Regions from separate parts of the Homo sapiens genome. Here all the other regions are linked to region 1. Evidence: promoter capture Hi-C in 16 types of primary human blood cells and fetal thymus (Javierre and others, 2016). All regions are on one chromosome and are shown on one strand. The core of a region is centred on a gene start or on the middle of the fragment in contact, and the rest is flanking DNA. Distances in the headings are between cores, read along the strand shown. Region 1 holds the start of AGBL2 (AGBL carboxypeptidase 2). Region 2 overlaps MADD (MAP kinase activating death domain). Region 3 overlaps PTPRJ (protein tyrosine phosphatase receptor type J). Region 4 overlaps MADD (MAP kinase activating death domain). Region 5 overlaps PTPRJ (protein tyrosine phosphatase receptor type J).

The links. The method cuts DNA at HindIII sites, captures the fragments that hold promoters and counts their contacts. A CHiCAGO score of 5 or more calls a contact.
Region 2: a fragment that was not itself captured here is called in contact with the fragment with the promoter of AGBL2 in region 1 in 1 of 17 cell types (activated CD4 T cells); the score reaches 5.2 in activated CD4 T cells.
Region 3: a contact is called between a fragment that was not itself captured here and the fragment with the promoter of AGBL2 in region 1, in 1 of 17 cell types (total B cells). The highest score is 5.4, in total B cells.
Region 4: a fragment that was not itself captured here is called in contact with the fragment with the promoter of AGBL2 in region 1 in 3 of 17 cell types (megakaryocytes, activated CD4 T cells and monocytes); the score reaches 8.3 in megakaryocytes.
Region 5: a fragment that was not itself captured here is called in contact with the fragment with the promoter of AGBL2 in region 1 in 2 of 17 cell types (naive B cells and total B cells); the score reaches 9.2 in naive B cells.

Annotation. Positions count from the first base shown.
Region 1 is chr11:47,713,174-47,717,702 of GRCh38, reverse strand. AGBL2 (AGBL carboxypeptidase 2) reads left to right here and starts at 2,334. Exons shown (of 19, transcript NM_024783.4): 1 at 2,334-2,528; 2 at 2,953-3,085; 3 at 3,356-3,419. The coding sequence starts at 3,053. FNBP4 (formin binding protein 4) reads left to right here. Exons shown (of 17, transcript NM_015308.5): 17 at 191-1,209. The coding sequence ends at 281. RefSeq lists an enhancer at 2,597-2,656. The HindIII fragment of the contact is 6,151 bases long and covers 1,171-4,529 here.
Region 2 is chr11:47,272,507-47,277,035 of GRCh38, reverse strand. It overlaps MADD (MAP kinase activating death domain), which reads right to left. Exons shown (of 37, transcript NM_001376571.1): 2 at 3,060-3,209; 3 at 1,877-2,473; 4 at 834-1,137; 5 at 173-304. The coding sequence starts at 3,121. Among named protein-coding and RNA genes, the nearest start is that of MADD-AS1, 2.7 kb to the right of the region's middle. The HindIII fragment of the contact is 3,506 bases long and covers 824-4,329 here.
Region 3 is chr11:48,149,200-48,153,728 of GRCh38, reverse strand. PTPRJ (protein tyrosine phosphatase receptor type J) reads right to left here. Exons shown (of 25, transcript NM_002843.4): 16 at 4,241-4,282; 17 at 3,731-3,739; 18 at 3,546-3,633. Among named protein-coding and RNA genes, the nearest start is that of MIR3161, 55 kb to the right of the region's middle. The HindIII fragment of the contact is 4,023 bases long and covers 606-4,529 here.
Region 4 is chr11:47,294,769-47,299,297 of GRCh38, reverse strand. MADD (MAP kinase activating death domain) reads right to left here. Exons shown (of 37, transcript NM_001376571.1): 23 at 3,719-3,802; 24 at 3,243-3,401. Among named protein-coding and RNA genes, the nearest start is that of MADD-AS1, 25 kb to the right of the region's middle. The HindIII fragment of the contact is 2,613 bases long and covers 627-3,239 here.
Region 5 is chr11:48,116,590-48,121,118 of GRCh38, reverse strand. It overlaps PTPRJ (protein tyrosine phosphatase receptor type J), which reads right to left. Exons shown (of 25, transcript NM_002843.4): 4 at 1-116. Among named protein-coding and RNA genes, the nearest start is that of MIR3161, 22 kb to the right of the region's middle. The HindIII fragment of the contact is 1,475 bases long and covers 1,824-3,298 here.

The DNA.
Region 1 (4,529 bases), core at 1,085-3,584:
TGGTTGACCTATCAGAATGAAGAAGTTTGATGAAGAATATACTGATGTTTGGCTGAGAAACAAAAGATTTTCATAAACATAGACGTGATAGATCAGGTTTTTAATTTCAGTTAGATTTTTATTTGCTGGGAAATGAATACTTTTGTTAATTTTTCTTTCCACTAAAATAATCTGTATGTTGTTTTCACAGTGGCATGGCAGAGAGAAATGCTAATTTTGAAGCCCTTCCTGAGGATTGGAGAGCAAGGCTGAAGAGAAGGAAAATGGCTCCAAACACATAGTTTTTAAGTTTTTAAAACTTTTTTGTATTATTGTTTGTTTTGTGTTCAGTTCAAAGTCTTAACCAGTTTTATTGTCAAATAAACTATAAATGTTATGGGGGAGATCTTATAAATTTCCTGGGCAAGAGTGTATGCATACAAAGTTTTCACTTTTGTGAAATGTAATTTTTCTGTTTTTGCAAAGGGATGAGGTGATTGGAATTGCTTTGACCATGCTGCCTTTATTCTCAAACTGGCAAACTTAGCATGTTAGGTGTATTAACCTCATCAGTCTTGAAGAACATGTGGCTCATGAGTATAACACTTCTGTAGAGGACTCCCTGACAAAAGTGAAGAATTAACTTCTCCTCCAGAACAAGTGCAATTCAGAAGGCAGCTCTGCATTCTACCTTGCTTGACTGGAATTGTCTGAAGCTTTTTCTGGCCTCTTTTCTCTAGTCGGCCACCCCTGAAGTGCTGAGGTCTAAGTGGTTTACCTCGTGCTGATAGATGGCCACACTCTTTAGAGTAGTTCTCATAAGTTCTAGAACTGGTAGCTCGGTCGTTTCGCACACTAGGTGGCATACAGGCAGCAGCAGGTGTTCATATCCTTGATTTTGAGAATTTCCCCTCAAGTATGTGGCAGTAAATACAACAAGACACTCTATGTATTAATGTCTCCATTGTCTTAACCCTGTTCCAAAACAAAATTCACCTCCTTTCTTTATGTGAATGTATTCTCCATAAAATTCCAGTATTTAAAAAGCAGTTTACTGTTCTGTACTTTCTGTTGTATCACAATCAGGTAAAAGTCACTTTAAACTGAGGAAACGGCAAATTGTGTTTTAAAGCTCTTTGTATTTCTCCAGTTTCTGACCTTGTAAATTTGTATATATGCACTAATAAAGCTTTTTTTATAATCCTGATGGGTTATCCTTTTGCTCGTCAACTCCTGTTATTCTGATTATGTAACCAGGACTTGTTTTTTTTTCTAAGCATATACAATGCAAGGTGCAAACATTTAACAACAGCTTTCAAGAAAATGAGCAGGAGATCTTTAATGGGGAGTGGTGGGGCCAGTTTAGACAAACAGGCTTCTAGTCCCAGATGGTGCTGTGTGATCAAAGTTTTGGGGTCTAATATTATCTATAATATCTAGATTGGTTAATAGCCATATTAGATAATATTTTACCTACTTAATTCCTGGCAATGATGTAATATGGTTAACATTTCAGAAAAAAAGGTGCTTTATAGCTTTTTTCCCCCCACTGATAAAAGTAACAGATACGGTTATATTCATATATAGTTAACCAAAGACACGTGTTTGAATTTTATTGTAGTATATTTATTTTTTTGTTGTTGGTTTTTTGTTTTTTTTTTTTCTGGAGACAGAATTTCGCTCTTGTTGCTCAGGCTGGAGTGCAATGGCACGATCTCGGCTCACCGCAACCTCCGCCTCCCAGGTTCAAGTGATTCTCCTGCCTCAGCCTCCCGAGTAGCTGGGATTACAGGCATGCGCCACCACACCCAGCTAATTTTGTATTTTTAGTAGAGATGGGGTTTTTCCATGTTGGTCAGGCTAGTCTCCAACTCTCGACCTCCCAAAGTTCTGGGATTACAGGCGAGAGCCACCGCGCCTGGCCTGGAGTAAATTTCTATGCATATAATTGATTTTTTTAAACCTAATCAAAATGTGTGATTTGAATTTGTTAGCTCTGTTTCTTAAGATTTGCAGTGTAGAAGGTAATTTTTCCTTTCTAGCTGTGCAGTGGAGAGAATGTTAAGGTGAAAGGAGAGAAGCAGCAGCTCTCTTAGAGCAAATTATGCATAACAGTTATCTAAAGCCAACAGCAAACCAGCTTGGAAGTATGTTGAAGGCTACTGGCATCGTACTCATCAATGCGGTTTCGATTCCGAGGCTGGGGCTGTGATGTATGAGGGGAAGAAAGCCGCTGCCCGCCATACATGTTGCAGACCTTCCCGGGGTCCCCGCTCCCTCCTTGGGGGCGAGGCCTAGCTCCCCGGAAGCGCCCGACCGCCCCGCCCTTTCTCCGCTTCCTGCTTTCGGTTGCTAGACTACCCGGGCCCTCACAGAAGGCGGTGGCGGGCGGGTGCAGCGAGTTTGTCCCCTTGCCCGCACACTGCTTGGCCTCTGTACTTAAGTGCGGTGGCCGCCTGCCTCGCTGGAGCTTCTCTGCCGCAGCCATCCGTGCTGCTTGGGACGGGCCGGGGCGCGAAGGCGGTCGCATCCATCGCTCTGCCCTCCTGGGAAGTTTCTGCTCTCCTTCCCCGCTCCTACCCTTAGGAAACCCCCTCACCACCTGCCCCAGACCAGGTTCCTCTGAACCCTAAATTCAATCTTTAGGGCCCACTTTCCCAACCCCCTGACCTTTTTCCATCGGCACCTACCGAGACGACTTCGTCGCGTGCTCCCATACCCATTTCTTTCACTTTCCTGTGGCGAGCATCTCCTTTCTCAGGGAAAGGGAAGCATGGGGCCAGCACCTTGGGAAGAAGAAGCGGGAAGATACGCTGCCCTCCCTGTCTCAGATGCACCTCTGGCCTCGGCGTGACCACCTTGTTTAGCTGAGGAGAAGCTGGGTTGGCAGGGTTTTCTGAAGTCAAGAGGGAGCTGGGGGGCGCCCGGGGAGGTATTGGCAGTTTTTTCACTTGTCCTCTTGTGGCTTTGTAGCTTCTCTTGTGTAATCAGCTGCCTATTTGGAAATTGGGCAGGGTTTGCGACTGGATGCTAATGTCACTGACTAGTTTTCAGCCTACCATCCAGAAGTAACATGTTCCCAGCTTTGGAAACGCACCTAAAGCAGGTCGGTACACAACACGGAAAGCCACAGAAATTTCTTCGGGGAACTCCATTTCTTCGGGAACTCCACAGAAATCTGCTACTAGATGAGAAGGGATGTTCTGGTGGCATCTTTTCTCAGCTGGAGATCTTGATCCCCACGATAGAATAATTCGCATGGAATGCAGCTCGCTTGGTTTAGTCTAGTCCTATGCAACAACGCTCATGTACTTTTTGTTGAGTCTATTATGGTTTGAAAACATTATCTTGATTGAAGTGGCCTTTCCTTTCACAGACTATTCCTGATCCTTATGAAGACTTTATGTACCGTCACCTCCAATATTATGGCTACTTTAAAGGTAATACCATGTTCTTATCTAGTATCACCTTTCCTGGACTCAAGAGGAAAATTGCTTCGTTAGCTGGGAGGGTTGCACTTGGGTAGACTAATAAATAATTTGCATTGACAAATAAATACTTTTTCCTCTACCATTAGTGAAAAGTACTTCCTTTCCCCATTGATCTGCGGGTCACCTCTGTCAAGTAGACAGCATCACTTAATACAAAGGTCTGTTTCTGGGCTCTCTATTCCATTGGTCTGTTTGGCTATCCTTTACCAGTATCACTGTCTCTTAATTACTATATGGCATTAAAATAGTCTTTATCTGGAAAGACATGTCTTCCCACCTTGTTCTTCAGAAGTGTCACGGCTGTTCTTGAGTCTTTGCCTTACTATATAAATTTTACAATTGGCGGCCGGGCACGGTGGCTCACACCTGTAATCACAGCACTTTGGGAGGCCGAGACGGGTGGAGCACGAGGTCAGGAGATCGAGACCATCCTGGCTAACACGGTGAAACCCCGTCTCTACTAAAAATACAAAAAAATTAGCCGGGCGTGGTGGTGGGTGCCTGTAGTCCCAGCTACTGGGAAGGCTGAGGCAGGAGAATGGCGTGAACCTGGGAGGCGGAGCTTGCAGTGAGCCGAGATCAAGCCACTGCACTCCAGCCTGGGCGACAGAGTGAGACTCTGTCTCAAAAAAAATAAATAAATAAAAATTTAAAAAAATAAATTTTGCAATTGGCTTATGACATTTTATTTTATTTTTTATTTATTTTGAGATGAAGTCTCACCCTGTCGCCCAGGCTGGAGTGCAGTGGCACGATCTCGGCTCACTGCAACCTCTGCCTCCCAGGTTCAAGAGATTCTCCTGCCTCAGCCTCCTGAGTAGCTGGGATTACAGGCACGAGCCACCACGCCTGGGTAATTTTTGTTTCTTTCTTTTTTTTTTTTTTTTTGCGATAGAGTCTCACTCTTTTCACCCAGGCTGAAATGCAATGGCGCAATCTCGGCTCACTGCGACCTCCACCTCCTGGGTTCAAGAGATTCTCCTGCCTCAGCCTCCCAAGTAGCTGGGATTACAGGCGCCCACCACCACTCCCAGCTAATTTTTTTGTGTATTTGTAGTA
Region 2 (4,529 bases), core at 1,327-3,826, 440 kb after region 1:
TAAAATAGCATAAGCCTTGCCACCAGATCAGTTCAAATCAGTCAGATTTTGTAGACAAATAAGTTATGACAAAGGATTGAGGACCAGCACTCACTTACAACTTCTTTGAGCATTAAGCCTCCTCCCTCAGGAAGACAGAGGTGAGAAAGCCGGAAGTCGCCTTGAGACTCACCTGCTCTGCTGATGCCATGCAGGTGGGTAGCAGCGGGATGACAGGAAACATATACTCCAGTGGGTAGATCATTGCCACGAATGCCATCACAGACATGGAGAGTGCATTGTAGTCTCGGGACTGTAGCACCACCTGTCATGAGCCATCCAGTAAGAATCACTCCAAAACATAAAATATGGTTTACAAGAAAACAGCTTCCAACATTACAACTTGGTTTCCACTTCATCGAGCCTACAGCTCCAGCTTTGTCTCTCCCACTGCCCCCTGCCCCACCATGCCTGCCACCTCCCAATCCAGGCACAATGGTGATCCTCAGTCACCTGAGATATGCAAATCACTCCCTTACCTTCCTAGTTCTTGTACTGCCCATCCCAGGACCACTCACTGAAACAGAACTACTGATATTTCCAAAGAATTAGGTCAGTACAATTAAGGATAAGCCCTAATGAATGGTAAACCCTCTAAATACATCCCACATGATACCAGTATCTTAATTCAACCCACATCTACGGAACACCTGCTGTTTACCAGGCATCATGTTACCTCCTGAAGACAAAAAGGTGAAAAATATGTAGTCCCTGTCCTCTAAGAGCTCGTGGTCTGGCCACTGGCATATTTAAGAGTTTCTCCCCTAGAAAGGTCTAGGAAGCTTGCCTCTCACCTTGTGCTCTAACAGAATGCAGGTTAGCACCTGGAGACAGGCGTCCACACCTAGAAGTTCCAAGGGAAGGTGCAGTGGGAAATCCACTAGGGTGAATCGAGATGGGTCTGGAAGAGCAAAGGTCAGAGCTGGCTGGAGCTCTTGGGGTAGGACCTCGATGTCTACTCGCTTCTGCCCAGAGACGGGTACTGGGGAGCGCAGCAATCGATAGATCCAGGCCTCAATCTCTCGAAGGTCATGCAGAAGGGCACTTGACTTCTCCTCTACCAGCAGCGATCCAGTAAAGATCCGCCACATGGTGTCCCTGAGAAGCAGACAGCAGGAATCAGACACATTAGCATCAGAAGCTGATACCCTACTGCAACTCAGTATCACCACAGAGGCTCTAATGATGACAATGGGAAACGGAGCATCATTAAGAAAGCCCAGTCTCTGAGCTCAGATAGGACCGGAAAGTATATACAATGGCAAAAGCAAATGTAAAGATATATACTGGGTAAGACTTACTGTCCTAACCACAGTTAAAACACCAAATTCCAGCATTACTCCAAACACAATTTTGGAAAGAGGTCTAACTCTGCAGCAGTCTTTTGCTTAGTAAAGATTAACTCTTGGCTGGGGATGATGCTCACGCCTATAATCCCAGCACTTTGGGAGGCCAACGTGGGTGGACCACCTGAGGTGAGGAGTTTGAGACCAGCCTGGCCAACATGGCGAAACCTTGTCTCTACAAAAATACCAAAATTAGCTGGTCATGGTGGCGTGCACCTGTAATCCCAGCTACTCGGGAGGCTGAGGCAGAAGGATCACTTGAACCCAGGAGGCAGGGGTTGCAGTGAGCCGAGATCGCACCACTGTACTCCAGCCTGGGCAACAGAGCGAGACTGTCTCCAAAAGAAAAAAGATTAACTCTAAATACTCTAAATATGCTTAATAGGTCTGAAGGACCTTGAGCTGTAGAGGAAATTTCCTATGCCCCTCAAAGACCAATTACATGGAATCTCTAAATGCTTCCCCCATTAGGCATCAGCAGCAAACTGTACCTTTGTACGCCTCGAGGGATGCCCAGTTTCTTGCCCAGAAGGCGCTCACTACAGCAGTCCACCAGGCGCTTGAGAGTATACAAACACTCTCGGAAGGTGGAGAAGAAAGGGTAGTGGCTGAGCACGCACAGGGACGTGAGAGTACTGTTGCGGGAGCGGCTCCCCGCCTTGGCCCGGCGTTTGCCCCGAGGAGACTGGTTCACATCAGGGGTAGAGTCAGCACTGAGAGGCTGCAGGGATGAGCCACTCTCTGAGCTCTCAGTGCCACCCTCTTCTGAGGCACAGGTGGCATGGGTTCCTTCCTTCCCACGGGACCCTGCCCCACCTTCCCCCTTCTCCTTAGAGATTCGCTTTTGGAAGGAGCGGTAGAAGTTAACACAGATGCCATATCGCGTGACTCCAGTGTCCTTGTCAGTGAGGGTGAAGACAAAAGAGGTATCATCCCGAAGGCTCATGCGCCGCTGCCGCACGCTCAGGCAGCCCTCGGGCTGGCAGAAGAACACTACATCTGGGGGCAGGGGAAACTCAGTGTGATCCTCCAAGGGGTATCGCCGTAGCAATTCAGGAGTCTGGGCCACGCTATCACTGCTCGGGTGCCTGAAGAACATAAAGACAAATTCAGCAGCCTGAAGGGATGGAATGGGCTATCAAATTTTAACCACAGTCAACAAATAAAGCTCAAGATGCTATTTTGGATAAAGTAACCTGACTGTAACACCTTGGAAAATATGGGTGCTGCCTGCCGCATGGAGCTGGTAACCTAAGTGAAGTCTACACTGTCATGAAGGCATCTATTCTGAAACGAAGGGGAGATTTTGACAATAAAATTATCACTGGCACCTTAAGATGATTAACATCTTTTAAAGTGAATTAACTAATAAATTACCAAAAAAGTATACATAGAGGAGTAGCTTATAATGTACTTTTTCTTTTTACAAAATAAGAAAACTGAGGTATAAAGAGTATATTTGCTCGACATCAAGAAGATGTTAGTTAAGAGCAGGGTTTTGCTTTCAATCCACCTGATTTTGTTTTTTCCCTACTGGCTTCGATGCTCCCATCAGGGTAAAATAACAGGAGAAGATGAGCTATGCAAAGCAACATGGAAATCGGAGAAGGGAACAACTGCAGATTTTATGGCTATCCCAGATATTAAGACAAAAGTCAATCTCTTCTTGGTTACCTGGCCCCTACGATCACTAGATAGTCAAGTAACCGAGGACAGAACTTCTTCTTTTGCACCATGGTTCCAATTCATCAGTTTATCTCAGAGAAGCATCAGGGCACCAAGCAAGGAGTCAGCATTCCCAGGAGGAATTCTGAAAATCGAAGTCTAATAGGAAAAAAAGTACTGATAAGATCCACTGCTGTGCCTAAGGGACTCATCCCTCTCAACTTCTTCCCGGCCAGAGGCAGAGGTCAGAAGGTCTTCCACTTTCATACTAATGATAGGAGAACTTGACGCTTGCCTAGCCTCGTGTCTAGGCTCATGAGCTCACAGAATCGAATGTTAAAAAATAGATAGGCCAGGCATGGTGGCTCACGCCTGTAATCCCAGAACTCTGGGAGGCCGAGGCGGATCACCTGAGGTCAGGAGTTTGAGACCAGCTGGCCAACATGGCAAAACCCCATCTCTACTAAAAATACAAAAAAATTAGCCGGGTGTGGTGGCACACATCTGTAATCCCAGCTACTCGGGAGTCTGAGGCATGAGAATCGCTTGAACCCAGGAGGTGGAGGCTGTGGTGAGCTGAGATCGCACCACTGCACTCGAGCCTGGGTGACAGAGTGAGACTCCGTCTCAAGAAAAAAAAAAAAATGTAGATAAATAATGGTTCACCTACCTATCCCTACCAATGACTTAATTTCCAGCTTAACGCCTGGGGCTCTGTTTCTGAAAAACAGACCTAGGCCATCTAATCTGGACTCAGTCATTGTAACAAAAATTGAAGTCACTCTCAGGATCCCTCCAGGGTGGATCAGGATCAAACCAGACTCCTCAACTAGCTAGCACTAACCTGCACTTCTAGGTCTAGATGGAAACTTAATTATTCTGTTTCAACAATCTACATTCAGCTTGATGTAAAACTACCACATAGACTGTCTAGTTAACCATGCTCAGACAATAACAGCTGGCTATTCTACCTCATGTGATCTCAAATGAAAATGTCCATGCCCCAATTGCCTAATCTGCACCACTTTTCTCCCTCCTTCAGGCAAGAAAGGAGCCCAGAGGCCACTGCTACTAGCTCTGCCCTTGGTGCTGAATCATAATCTCTCCTCTATTTTGATCTCAGGCTCAGAATCAGTAATACAATACCCACAGATGAGTCCTTGTCCTACTATACATTACAGAGGCTATGAATTAGAGGCAGAAATACCAGGATTTCTGCAAGGACAGGGAGACGTGCTCAGAGAAATTTCTAAACTATGTCCTAAAATTAGGAAAAGCTTTCATGGTCTTAATTATAATTTATTTCGTGTTAAGTGTCTATACACTTCTCTAAATAAAACGTTTCACCCCGCTGCACAGCTATTTCTGGTAGGGCTACTTCTTCTATGAGTAGAAGTTCTTTTCTCATATTTCTAGTGTTCCAGGATTCTACCTCTGTGCTCTACATGCGGCCTAAGACCTTGTTCAATGCACACGGAG
Region 3 (4,529 bases), core at 1,368-3,867, 440 kb before region 1:
TATGACAGTGAAACCAGCCCAACAGTCCCATAGACAAGTTGTTTTTGAATAAACATAGAAATTTACCCTTCTGCTATTAAAGCCTGAAACTTGTATTTGTTTTATCTGAGTTCCTTTCTCAGGAAAGGACCTTCAGGGAGTAACAAAGAACTGAAACTAGTCAGATCACTGCACCAGATGCCTCCTTGCCCCTCCCTACTTCCTGTTTTCTTTTTTTTTTTTTTTTTTTTTTTTTTGAGACAGAGTCTCGCTCTGTCGCCCAGGCTGGAGTGCAGTGGCGCGGTCTCCTGCCTCAGCCTCCCGAGTAGCTGGGACTACAGACGCCCACCACCACGCCTGGCTAATTTTTTGTATTTTTAGTAGAGACGGGGTTTCACCATGTTAGCCAGGATGGTCTCGATCTCCTGACCTCGTGATCCACCCACCTTGGCCTCCCAAAGTGCTGGGATTACAGGCGTGAGCCACCATGCCCAGCCCCTAGTTCCTGTTTTCTTACACATTGTTACATTTCTTTCCTGCTGTATAAACCCCTGGTTTTAGTCAGTCAGCGAGATGGATTTGAGATTCAGCTCCCATCTCCTTGGCTGCAGCACCCGATTAAAGCTTTCTTCCCCGGCAATATTTGTCATCTCAGTGATTGGCTTTCTGTAAAGGTGAGGAGCAGGACCTAGACCAAACCCGTGGTGTTTTGGTAGCAAAAGAACAAAGTGGAAATGTAGAGGTGATATGGGTTAAACTGTGCCCCAAAAAGATATGTTGGATTTCTCGCCCCCAATACCTATGAGTGGGATCTTATTTAGAAATAGGCTCTTTACAAGCCTGCACTGCCAAGACAATCCTAAGCCAAAAGAACAAAGCTGGAAGCATCATGCTAGCTGACGTCAAACTATACTACAAGGCTACAGTAACCAAAAGAGCATGGCACTGGTACCAAAACAGAGATATAGACCAATGGAACAGAACAGAGCCCTCAGAAATAATACCACACATCTACAACCATCTGATCTTTGACAAACCTGACAAAAACAAGCAATGGGGAAAGGATTCCCAATTTAATAAATGGTGCTGGGAAAACTGGCTAGCCATATGTAGAAAGCTGAAACTGACAAAAATTAATTCAAGATGGATTAAAGACTTAAATGTCAGACCTAAAACCATAAAAACCCTAGAAGAAAACCTAGGCAATACTATTCAGGACATAGGCATGGGCAAGGACTTTACGTCTAAAACACCAAAAGCAATGGCAACAAAAGACAAAATTGACAAATTGGATCTAATTAAACTAAAGAGCTTCTGCACAGCAAAAGAAACTACCATCAGAGTGAACAGGCAACCTACAGAATGGGAGAAAATTTTTGCAATCTACCCATCTGACAAAGGGCTAATATCCAGAAACTACAAAGAACTTAAACAAATTTACAAGAAAAAATCAAACAACCCCATCAAAAAGTGGGCGAAGGATATGAACAGACACTTCTCAAAAGAAGACATTTATGCAGCCAAAAGACACATGAAAAAATGCTCATCATCGCTGGCCATCAGAGAAATGCAAATCAAAACCACAATGAGATAGCATCTCACACCAGTTAGAATGGCAATCATTAAAAAGTCAGGAAACAACAGGTGCTGGAGAGGATGTGGAGAAATAGCAACACTTTTACACTGTTGTTGGGACTGTAAACTAGTTCAACCATTGTGGAAGACAATGTGGTGATTCCTCAAGGATATGAAACTAGAAATACCATTTGACCCAGCCATCCCATTACTGGGTATATACCCAAAGGATTATAAATCATGCTGCTATAAAGACACATGCACATGTATGTTTATTGCAGCACTATTCACAATAGCAAAGACTTGGAACCAACCGAAATGCCCATCAATGATAGACTGGACTAAGAAAAATGTGGCACACATTCACCATGGAATACTATGCAGCCATAAAAGGATGAGTTCAGGTCCTTTGTAGGGACATGGATGAAGCTGGAAACCATCATTCTCAGCAAACGATCGCAAGGACAGAAAACCAAACACCGCATGTTCTTACTCATAGGTGGGAATTGAACAATGAGAACACTTGGACACAGGGAGGGGAACATCACACACCGGGGCCTGTCATGGGGTGGGGGGAGGGATAGCATTAGGAGATATACCTAATGTAAATGATGAGTTAATGGGTGCAGCACACCAACATGGCACATGTACACATATGTAACAAACCTGCATGTTGTGCTCATGTATCCTAGAACTTAAAGTATAAAAAAAAAAGGCTCTTTACAAATGTAAACAAATTAAAATGAGATCATACTAGATTAGAGTGGGCCCTGAATCCCATATGACTAGTGTCCTTATAGGAGGAAAAGAGACAAAGAGACATAGACACATGAGGGGAGATGGCCATGTGAACACAGAGGCAGACATCAGAGTGTTGCTGCCACAAAACCAAGGGACGCCTGGGGCTCCCAGAAGCTGCGGAGGCAAGGAAGGGCGCTGCCCAGAGGTTTAGAAGGGAGTGTGACCCTGCCCACACCTTAATTTGGGACTTGTGGCCTCTAGACAGTAAATTTCTGTTGTTTTCAGCCTCCCAGTTTGTGGTGCTTTTTTATGGCAGCCTAGAGAACTAATACAAAGGTTAGAATATAGGAAAAAGGATAACCCTTGCCTTCAAGCAGTTGCAACCTGGAGGAGAGGTGTACTGTACACAGAAAAAACTAACATTACAAAAAGGCAGAATTAAAGAAATGCTGAATATTGGTAACAAGCAACAGGGGAAACAAGGCAGTCTGAGCACACAGAACTCAAGTCCTCCTAATGGGATCCCAGAATGCCCATGGAGGAAGCAGCATGTGCACTGTGCTGAGTGCTGAGCAGGATTTCAAGAGAGCAAAGGCAGAGATGCTGGACAGGGCAGCACAGGAGGACGAGTGTGCATGGTCACTCTGAGCAGGGCTGGTTCCTGGGCTGGTTGGAGCACAGCATGGGGAACTGAAAGGCAGACACTGGCCAAGAAATTCCTTGTGCAGGGCTTCAGAAGTGAGCCTCACAAGCCATCCTAGGCCACACTGCCATCAAGCCCCAGACCTCTACATGCCCATTTGGTTTCTTTCCAGCTCATATAGCTTCCTAAGTATTGTGGCTAACAGTTCCCTGACTTGAATTCCTAGTTTCTGTTAACAGTTTTCTAACTTTCAGGAAAAACAAGCCAATTTCTAAGGAAAGTGGCTGTGCTTCAGTCAGGAGTAGTCCAAGGTAGACATCCAGGACAGTATGACGCAAAGGGTTTGGAGCGCAACAACCCCTTGCGTTATATAGCCATTTAATGTAACCTGTTTGTGTGAGTTCATACCTGGCTTTGAGCCACTATTGTCTGTGAGTAATATAACTGCACTGCTGACTCTGTAGGAGAGAGAATAAAGCCATGTCCCAACTGCCTACAGTCCCTCGAGTGTTCTTTCAGCTACCTGCCACCCATCCACCAACTCCCCTCAGATCCCAGCTTGGGTTGGAACCTGACACAATTAAAAACAGTATTTACAGCAACATACTTCGTATTCCTCTGCGAACCCACAGTTGGAGTCAGCTTGCTGCTTCTTGAAGTAGGCCTCAAAATTCTCCACTCTGATTAACTTAGATCTAAGAAAACAAAACTTATCAGGATTTTTTACATTCAGTGAAGTCCATATTCAATAGAAAAGTACAAGTTATTAAAAAAAATAAAGAGATTACTCACTTTTTAGGTCTTCATGATAGAAAGGGAAAGAAAAAATATGCAATTAGAAAGACTCATTCATACTCTAGAAATGACAGTAAACAATCTTCCCAAAACAACAAAACCCAGGGTATAATTTGGCAAGAGGGGGTCAGAGTACTATTATTCACAAAACACTAAAATATGATTCAGGAAATCTGATTTCTAGACCCTACTTTGTAACTAATTGGTTTTGTGACTTTAAGTAAGTTCTTCTCTCCCCTGGATCTTGATAACCTATTTGACGTTTTTTTAATCAAGAAATCCGTATTTATTGGTAGAAGAGTAGAACATGACAAGGAAGCCAGCTTCAGGAGACTAATAAAACATAGATTCCTTGCAGAAAACAGAGCTAGCAAAAACTTCCAGATGGTCATGGTCAAAATGTGCCAATCAGGAAAAATGACAGCAAGTTCCATCAAAAATTATTTATAGATAGTCACCGAACAGATTGGAGGATTTAAAATAAAGCTCATAATTTGAGAGACTTACTTAATTTGAGAAAAGGACACTTCATTATTCTTTGCATCTTTCCTGTTTTAAGAGAAAAGAGACCCATTAGACAAAAAAGGATTCCTTCCTGTGCTTTTCCCTTGTGTATCTGGAGTTGATGTCATCTATGAAATAAAGGTGTTACACCTTTTCCTCAGGCATTAGTTCACAGCTGACACCAAATCCTGCCCCCTAATACTAAACTTAATGACCCAAGCTGCAAATGCTAATTACAAATTTGTGAAGTTATTTTCTTTTGTACTATCTAAAAGAATGAAAAAAATCATAT
Region 4 (4,529 bases), core at 684-3,183, 420 kb after region 1:
GTTCATGGATTGGACGAATATTGTGAAAATGACCATACTACCAAAAGTGATCTACAGATTCAATGCAATCCCTACCAAAATACCAACGGTATTCTTCACAGAAATAGAAAAAAAATCCTAAAATTCATATGGAACCACAAAAGACCCCAGATAGCCAAAACAATCCTGGACAAAAAGGAATCACACTACTAGACTTCAAAATATAAGACAAAGCTATAGTAACCATAACTGCATGCTACTGGCATAAAAAACAGACCCATAGACCAATGGAACAGAATAGAGAACCCAGAAAGAAATCCATATATTTATAGCCAACTGTTTTTTGACAAAGGAACCAAGAATATTCACTGGGGATAGGGACAGTCTCTTCAATAAATGCTGCTCGGAAAACTTGATATCCATTATTCAGAAAAATAAAACTAGACCCCTTAGCTCTCACCATATACAAAAATCAACCCAAAATGGATTAAAGACTTAACTGTAAGACCCAAAACTATAAAACTACTAGAAGAAAACGTAGCAGAAATGCTTCAGGACATTGGTCTGGGCAAAAAGTTTATGGAGACCTCAAAAGTACAGGCAACAAAAGCAAAAGCAAAAACAGGATTATATTAAACTAAAAAGCTTCTACACAACAAAGGACACGATGAAATGAGTGAAGAGACAGTCTGCAGAATGGGAGAAAATATTTACAAACTATTCATCTGACAAGGGATTAATAGCCAGAATATACAAGAAAGAAAAAACTCAACAGCAAAAAAACACAAATAATCTATTTAAAAATGGGCAAATGAGCTGAATAGATCTCTCTCAAAAGAAGACATACAAATGGCTAACAGGTGTTTTGGAATAATGGGCCTCTACACAGGCCTTGAAGCCAAACTGCTGTAGACGGTTCTCACTGCCGCTTCCATTTATGAGAAACTGATGGTTGCTATCTTCACAGTTATGCGGCTGAAGAGTACAAGCAAGCACTGAGATGTCTTATAGTAAAAAGTTCAGAAGATGCTCAAGGTGGAGGATTTTCTTCTAAGCGAAGAGAAGTAATTTTCCTATTACTCTGGCTCCTTCCACCACAAATGTCATCCTTATTGGTTTGAAAAGCATCTAAAAGTAAACAGGAAGTATAGCAGGCTAGCCCCGTTGCCAATTTAATTTTTACGATCCATGGTTAGATTTTGTGGTGAAGGTTGAACTAATATGTAAAGAAGGCCGGGCGCGGTGGCTCATGCCTGTAATCCCAGCATTTTGGGAGGCCGAGGTGGGCAGATCACAAGGTCAGGAGATTGATACCATCCTGGCTAACACGGTGAAACCCCATCTCTCCTAAAAATACAAAAAATTAGCCGGGCATGGTGGTGGGCGCCTGTAGTCCCAGCTACTCGGGAGGCTGAGGAAGGAGAATGGTGTGAACCTGGGAGGTGGAGATTGCAGTGAGCAGAGATCGCGCCACTGCACTCCAGCCTGGGCGACAGAGCAAGATTCTATCTCAAAAAAAAAAAAAAAAAGAAAGAAAGAAAGAAAAGAAAAGAAAACATTATTGAAAACCCTTGGCCGGGAGCAGTGGCTCACGCCTGTAATCCCAGCACTTTGGTAGGCCAAGGCGAGCAGATCACGAAGTCAGGAGATCAAGACCGTCCTGGCTAACATGGTGAAACCCCATCTCCACTAAAAATACAAAAAATTAGCTGGGCGTGGTGGCGGGCACCCGTAGTCCCAGCTACTTGGGAGGCTGAGGCAAGAGAAGAGTGTGAACCCAGGAGGCGGAGCTTGCCGTGAGCCGAGATCGCACCACTGCACTCCAGCCTGGGTGACACAGCGAGACTCCATCTCAAAAAAAAAAAAAAGAAAAGAAAAGAAAACCCCTAATAAACTGTCAGCACAAAAGAAAAATCAATCACTCAATCAGCCAATCAGTCTGTTCAGACTGAGAGAGAGTTAAGGCCCATTAACTTGAGTAGCCTCTCAGTCCTATTCCCAATCTCCACTCTGGGAGGTCACTGACTCTATTAAAAACACACATACAGAAGGCTCTGGGGGTGGGAATGATAACCAGTTTTAAATAGTTGGTTTCATTTAACTTTTATCTTCCTTTCTCCCCATAGGCCTTAAAGATAAGGACCTATGCGTATAAGCTCTTGTAGAGAACATCCATTCTCATCTCTGTTTAATAAAGTAACAAGTCTATCAGTGTTTTAACACAGCCTATAGAGGCACATACACATTAAAAAGCAGAGGCTGGGCACAGTGGCTCATGCCACTTTAAGAGGCCAAGGCAGGAGGCTCACTTAACCCAGGAGTTTGAGACTGGCCTAGACAACAGAGGGAAACCCCATCTCTACAAAAAACTAAAAAATTAGCCAGGCATGGTGGTGTATGCCTGCAGTCCCAGCTACTTGGGAGGCTGAGGTGGGAGGATCACTTGAGCCTAACAGGTCAAAGCTGCAGTGAGCAGTTGAGCAGTGACTGTGCCACTACACTCCAGCCTGGGCAACAGAGTGAGACCCTGTGTAAAAAAAAAAAAAAAAAAAAACAACAAAAAACAGATGTCTACGGCAAGGACTAAAAAGAATTCATCTCCTTCCAGCTGATCATGGGCTTACTGTGTGATCTAGGGAAGTTCTTTTTTCCTAAGGCATTGTTCCCCTCACCTATTAGAAGAGACTACTCACAGCAATATAGTGAATCACAAACTTCTTGAGTAGAAACCATGCCTTTTTCATCCCTGTTTCTTTAGCACAAAATCTGGCACTTAGTAAATCACTTCATGGATGTTTATTAATGAATGAAAACTTCAAATAACTGTTAGGAATATACTAAAATAAAATGCTATTTTATTTATAAATAGAGCAGTGACCAAAATAAAACTGGATAGTCCATAGAAATAGGCAGACTGGTACTAAACGAGAGCTGTAATTGTCCTGACATTGCCACAAAGGTATTACTTTGCCTGTGTTAAACCTGGGGGTTAATACTACATAGGATTCAAAGCCCTTACGTGACTGGGCACGGAGCCTAACTCATCAATGATTCAGGAGAGGGTTCTAAAAGCCCCAGATTGTGAGTCAAATGACTCTGAACAAAGCCTTAAGAAATGTTTTCCTTAAAGCCAAATATAAGAAGATTACCTCTTCCTTATTTAACCTTTACCTCTTTAGCGTCTCTTAACTTTCATTCTTTTCTTGCCTGCTTCCCTCCCCCATTAAAGAAATGGTTTTCTTTTGTTAATAAACAAAGCTTACAAAGATGGTGCTTGTGGCAGAGTTGGTCTCAATTTCACTATCAGACAAAGTGCCCCGAGAGCTTGCCAGGTGAACACTGCCCTCGCCACCTGGTCCATCACCTGCATTGCTGCTCAAGTCACTGTCAGCTCCAAGGGTCTCTCCAGAGCTATTACTCACCTGGAAAGGAAAAAAGGTAGTAAGAGACAGTCCCCAGGGATGGGCCCCAGAAATACCAAGCTGTTAGAGCTCCCTGCCACCATAAAAAAGTATTAAATTTCAAAAGTGTGTCAGATAGCCTCTGGAAGTACCTTCTTTATAAGATGAGAAGCTCTGGGTGAAATCTCGTATACACACACCTATGATGGTAAACATCTCCACCATGAGAACCATGCTGACCTGAGACTCAGAGCAGCCTCCAAAGAGAAAGTAGCACCCTTTTCCAAAGGGGAAATCCACACCCCACCCACCAAGATGCCAGTGTGGTGTTCCCCTACCACGGTGCTAACTTCAGAATCCTGACTTGAGCTGCGGATCATAACAGCTGGACTCACGCCGATGACAGAGTCTTGATCAGTCCTCTGAAACAAGACACAGGAACATTAGGGGAGGTGTCCAATCTCCTCTCAGTTTCCCACAGAAATACTGTACCTTTTTCTTTCTCCTCATCCCCACCCTTCTGTTATCATCCTTAGAGAAGTCACGAGCAACTTTTGTTTCCAGAATATAAAATATGTACAACTTATGTAATAAAAAAAAGAAATAGGCCGGGCACAGTGGCTCACGCCTGTAGTCCTAGCACTTTGGGAGGCTGAGGTGGGAGGATCATTTCAGCCCAGGAGTTGGAGACCAGGCTGGGCAACATGGCGAAACCCCATCTCTACAAAAAATACACAAACTTAGCCAGGCATGGTGGTGGGTGCCTGCGGTCCCAGATGCTCAGGACGCTGAGGTGGGAGCATCACTTGAGCCCAGGAGTTTGAGGCTGCAGTGAGCAGAGAGCACACCACTGCTCTCCAGCTGCAGCGACAGAATGAGACCCTGTCTCAAAAAAAAAAACAAAAAAACAAAAAACAATGCGTTAAAGAAGTACATGCTCACTGTAGAAAATACATGAAAGAATAAGGAAATAAGAACAAGCTGTAAATCTACCTCCCACGTTAACCACTGTTTTTAGTATATTTCCTTTCAGTTTTTTCTCAATACATTTTAAAAATAAAATTGGAGTCACACTATAGGTAGCTTTGTTAAACAGTTTCCCATGTCACTAAATTTTTGAAAACACAATCTTTAATGGATACTAATATT
Region 5 (4,529 bases), core at 1,312-3,811, 400 kb before region 1:
CTTATGCTTTACTACATACTTGTACTCAGAAGCAGCTGTGTCATTACTTTTCCAAGTTAAGATCACATTGGTTGGACTGATGGAAACAGCTTTAATGTCAAACACAGGACTGGGCCCTATATTGTTAAAAAAAAAAAAAAAATTATTGCACTTCAAAAAGAAATGTAAGAGTGAGGTCTGCTCTATATGTCTAGTTTCCAGAAGTGACTTTCCAATCACAGAGTTTTATCTCTCTTTGCCTCCTAGACTTCCCTGCACCAGAATTTATTTAAATCCATATGCATACATGTATGTGTGTATGTTAGTAAAACAGAAGCCTTTGGAACAGAAGCAAAACTGACAGAAGTTGACCATGCTGGCTGTGACTTAAAAATGGGGTTAAGTCTGTATAGAAGCTGATACAAAAAGAGACCAAACTTTAGGAGGTCAAGGCGGGTGGATCACCTGAGGTCAGGAGTTCAAGACCACCCTGGCCAACATGGTGAAACCCCACCTCTACTAAAAAAACAAAAAAAACAAAAAAAAATTAGCTGGGTGTGGTGGCAGTCACCTGTAATCCTAGCTACTCGGGAGGCTGAGGCAGTAGAATCACTTGAACCCGGGAGGTGGAGGTTGCAGTGAGCCAAGATCGCGCCACTGCACTCCAGCCTGGGCGACAAGACCGAGACTCCATCTCAAAATAAAAAAGAGAGATCAAAGATGCAAAATGAGTCCCTCTCCCCATTCTCAGAAAACGCTGCATGACGCAGAAGCACATGATAACTTTTTTGCCAAACCCTGACATCTAGAAGGAAGCTCAGTGGTTTTCTGACATAAAGATAGCAGGGACAGAGCAGCGTAAAGAGAAAAGGACTGGTCTTGGAACCCAGATCTGGGATTAAAGACCTGCTCCATCCATTAGCTGTGTGACCTAGAATTAGTCCCTTCAAACCTCTCAGTCTCAAGTTTCTCTGTTGATAGCTCTAGTACACCACACTAAACACGAAGAATTATTATTGAACCACCATGATATGATAAACAAGGGACAAGATTTGGACATTAGAAATCTGGTTTCAGGGTCCAATTCTGCTAGTTGCTCACCATGCAATTTTACTCAAAGTCATCTCACCTCTCTGAACCTTAGTTTCATCATCTTAGATGTACAAGATCGTAAACCAGTGGAAGCCATCAGGGTTACTAACTGTAAAACTACCAAATGGATGCATCCTAATTGAGCTGAAGACTGAGGAGTAACAACCAGAAACCGAAGAGTAAAACCCAGGTGATACGGCAGTCATTCTCAAGGAGCTTGGGACTAATCCCAAAAGAGTAAAGATGGTGTAAGTGTTACCATCTTGCTATGTGCATGGACAGTGTGCCTCATCTGGCTCATGGGATATACAAACATTCATCCAATCAATAAAAAAACTGCAGGAAGCCAGGCACACTGGCTCATGCCTGTAATCCCAGCACTTTGGGAGGCTGAGGCAGGCAGATCAGATCACTTGAGGTCAGGAGTTCGACACCAGCCTGGCCAACATGGTGAAACCCCGTCTCTACCAAAAATACAAAAATTAATTGGGCATGGTGGCAGCCACCTGTGATCCCAGCTACTCGGGAAGCTGAGGCAGGAGAATCACTTGAACCCAGGAGGCAGAGTTTGCAGTGAACCAAGATCACACCACTGCACTCCAGCCTGGGCAACAGAGCAAGACTCTGTCTCAAAAGAAAAAATAAATAAATAAGGCAGGAGAATAAACAAGAGAAAGGAAAATGGAACAAGCAGGGAAGCATCTTGTGCCCCACAATTCAATAAACGTCATGCCAGAAGGCCCCTCCAAGCTTGAATTTCCTCTTTATAAAGTGACAAGTTCACAGAGTCAGAGTGGCATATTTGGAAGATGACCACTGTGCTTCCATTTACAATCAATAACAATGATGGTGACGAGGATGATGAAACAACATCAGTTACAGTGGTGCAGGTAGCAAGAACAGCAGCACTCCTTTTGAGAGGCCGTCCATGTCCCAGATGCTGTACAAGTATGTTCTCATTTATGCCTCACAACAACTTCATGAGAAAGGTATGGCACCATTATTTCTTTTTTTTTTTTTTTTTTTTTTGAGACGAAGTCTTGCTCGTCACCCAGACTGGAGTGTAGTGGCGTGATCTTGGCTCACTGCAACCTCTGCCTCCCGGGTTCAGGCGATTCTCCTGCCTCAGCCTCCCAAGTAGCTGGGATTAAAGGCACACACCATCATGCCCAGCTAATGTCACCATTTTAAAGAAGGAGAAATGTGTTAAGAACTAAATTTTGTTGATTCATACAGGGATTCTGGGAAGGTTTTGGAAAAGCAAGTTCTTAAGTTCAGAAAAGAAAGCACAGTTAACAATATTTTTTGGTCAAATGTTTTTTCTGCATCTACTGAAATGATTGTATGGTTTCTGTCCTCCATTCTGTTAATATGGTGTAGCACATTTATTGTTTTGCACAGGTTGAACCCTTTTTGTATTTCTAGGAAGAATCCCAGTTGATCATGGTGAATGATCTCTTTAATATGCTGTTAAATTAGGTTTGCTAGTATTTGGTTAAAGATTTTTGCATCTTGGCCTATAGTGTTTTGGGTTGTATCCTTGTCTGGTTTTCGTATCAAGGTAATACTGCTCTTGTTAAATGAGTTTGGAAGTATTCTCTCCTCCTCAATTTTTGGAAGCAATTGAGAAGAACTGTCATTAGATCTTCTTTAAAGGTTTGGCAGAGGACTGGGTGGCTCACACCTGTAATCTCAGCACTTCGGGAGGCCAAGGTGGTGGGGGTCACTTGAGGCTGGGAGTTCAAGAGCAGCCTGGGCAACACAGTGAGACCCCATCTCTACAAAAAAATTTTAAAAGTTAGCTGGATGTAGTGGTGCACACCAATAGCCACAGCTACTTGAGAGGCTAAGGCAGAAGGATCATTTCAGCCCAGGAGTTCAACTTACAGTGATCTATGATCACACCACTGTACTCCAGCCTGGGTGACAGAGGGAGTCACTGTCTCTTAGAATAACAACAGTAATAAATAGAAATGGGAGATGGTCTATTACTGATTCAATCTCCTAACTCATTATTGGATTATTCAGATTTTCTATTTCTTCATAATTCAATCATAGTAAATGGTATATGGCAAGGAATTTATCCATTTCTTCTAGGTTATCCAATTTGTTGGCATATAATTGTTCATAATTGTTCCTTTGTATTTCTGTGGTATCAGTTTATAATGTCTCATTTCTGATTTTCTTATTTGAGTAGCGTCTCTTTTTTCTTAGTCTAGCTAAAGCTTTGTCAATGTTCTTTGTTTTCAAAAAAACAACTTAGTTTATTGATCTTTTCTATTGTTTTTCTAGTGCCTATTTCATTTATTTCAGCTTTGACCTTTATTATTTTGTTCCTTTTACTAATTTGAAGATTAGTTTGTTCTTATTTTTCTAGTTCCTTAACGTGCTACATTAGGTTATTTACTTGAGGGTTTTGTTTTGTTTTTTTCAGACAGGCTCTCAAAACCCAGGCTGGAGGTATGAGCTTGCTTTTTTTTTTTTTTTTTTTTTTTTTTTTTTTTTTTGAGACAGAATCTTGCTCTGTTGCCCAGGCTGGAGTGCAGTGGTGCGATCTCGGCTCACTGCAATCTCTGCCCTCTGGGTTCAAGCAATTCTCCTGCCTCAGCCTTCCTAGTAGCTGGGATTACAGGTGTGTGTCACTACACCCAGCTAATTTTTGTATTTTTAGTAGAGACGGGGTTTCACCATGTTGGCCAGGCTGGTCTCGAACTCCTGACCTCAAGTGATCCGCCCATCTCGGCCTCCCAAAGTTCTGGGATTACAGGCACGAGCCACTGTGCCCAGGGAGCTTTCTTTTTTGATGTAGGAGTTTATTGCTGTCAACTTTCTTGGAAGGGCTGCTTTTGGTGTATCCCATAGGCTTTAGTATATTGTGTTTCCATTTTCATTTGCTTCAAGAAATTTTTAAATGTCCCTTTTAATTTCTTCACTGACCCATTGATTGTTCAGGGGCATTTGTGACAAAACAATTAACAATAGTTACTGTGGGAGATGGCAAGATCAGCATGACCCCTGCTGGGGACCTGCTGTAAGTGACCTGGGGACAGATCCTATACCAGGGGCTGTACAAGCATTTTCTAATTTATGTCTCACAGCAATTTCATGAAGGAGGTTATGGCACCATTTTAAAGAAGAAAAAGAAATATGTTAACAAAATTGCTTAAGAAGTGATGTTTGTCTCAAGATATTTTTTAGTTTCCCTTTTAATTTCATCATCAACCCATTAGTTATTCAGGAGCATGTTGTTTAATTTCCATATATCTGTGAATTTTCTTAAGTTCCTCCTGTTATTTATTTCTAGTTTGATGCCATCATCAGAAAAGATACTTGATATGATTTCACACTTCTTAAATCTGTTAACACTTGTTTTGTGGTCTAACATATGATCTACCTGGAGAATGTTCCAGGTGCAGTTGAAAAGTGTGTATTCTACAGCTGTTGGATGGAATGTTCTG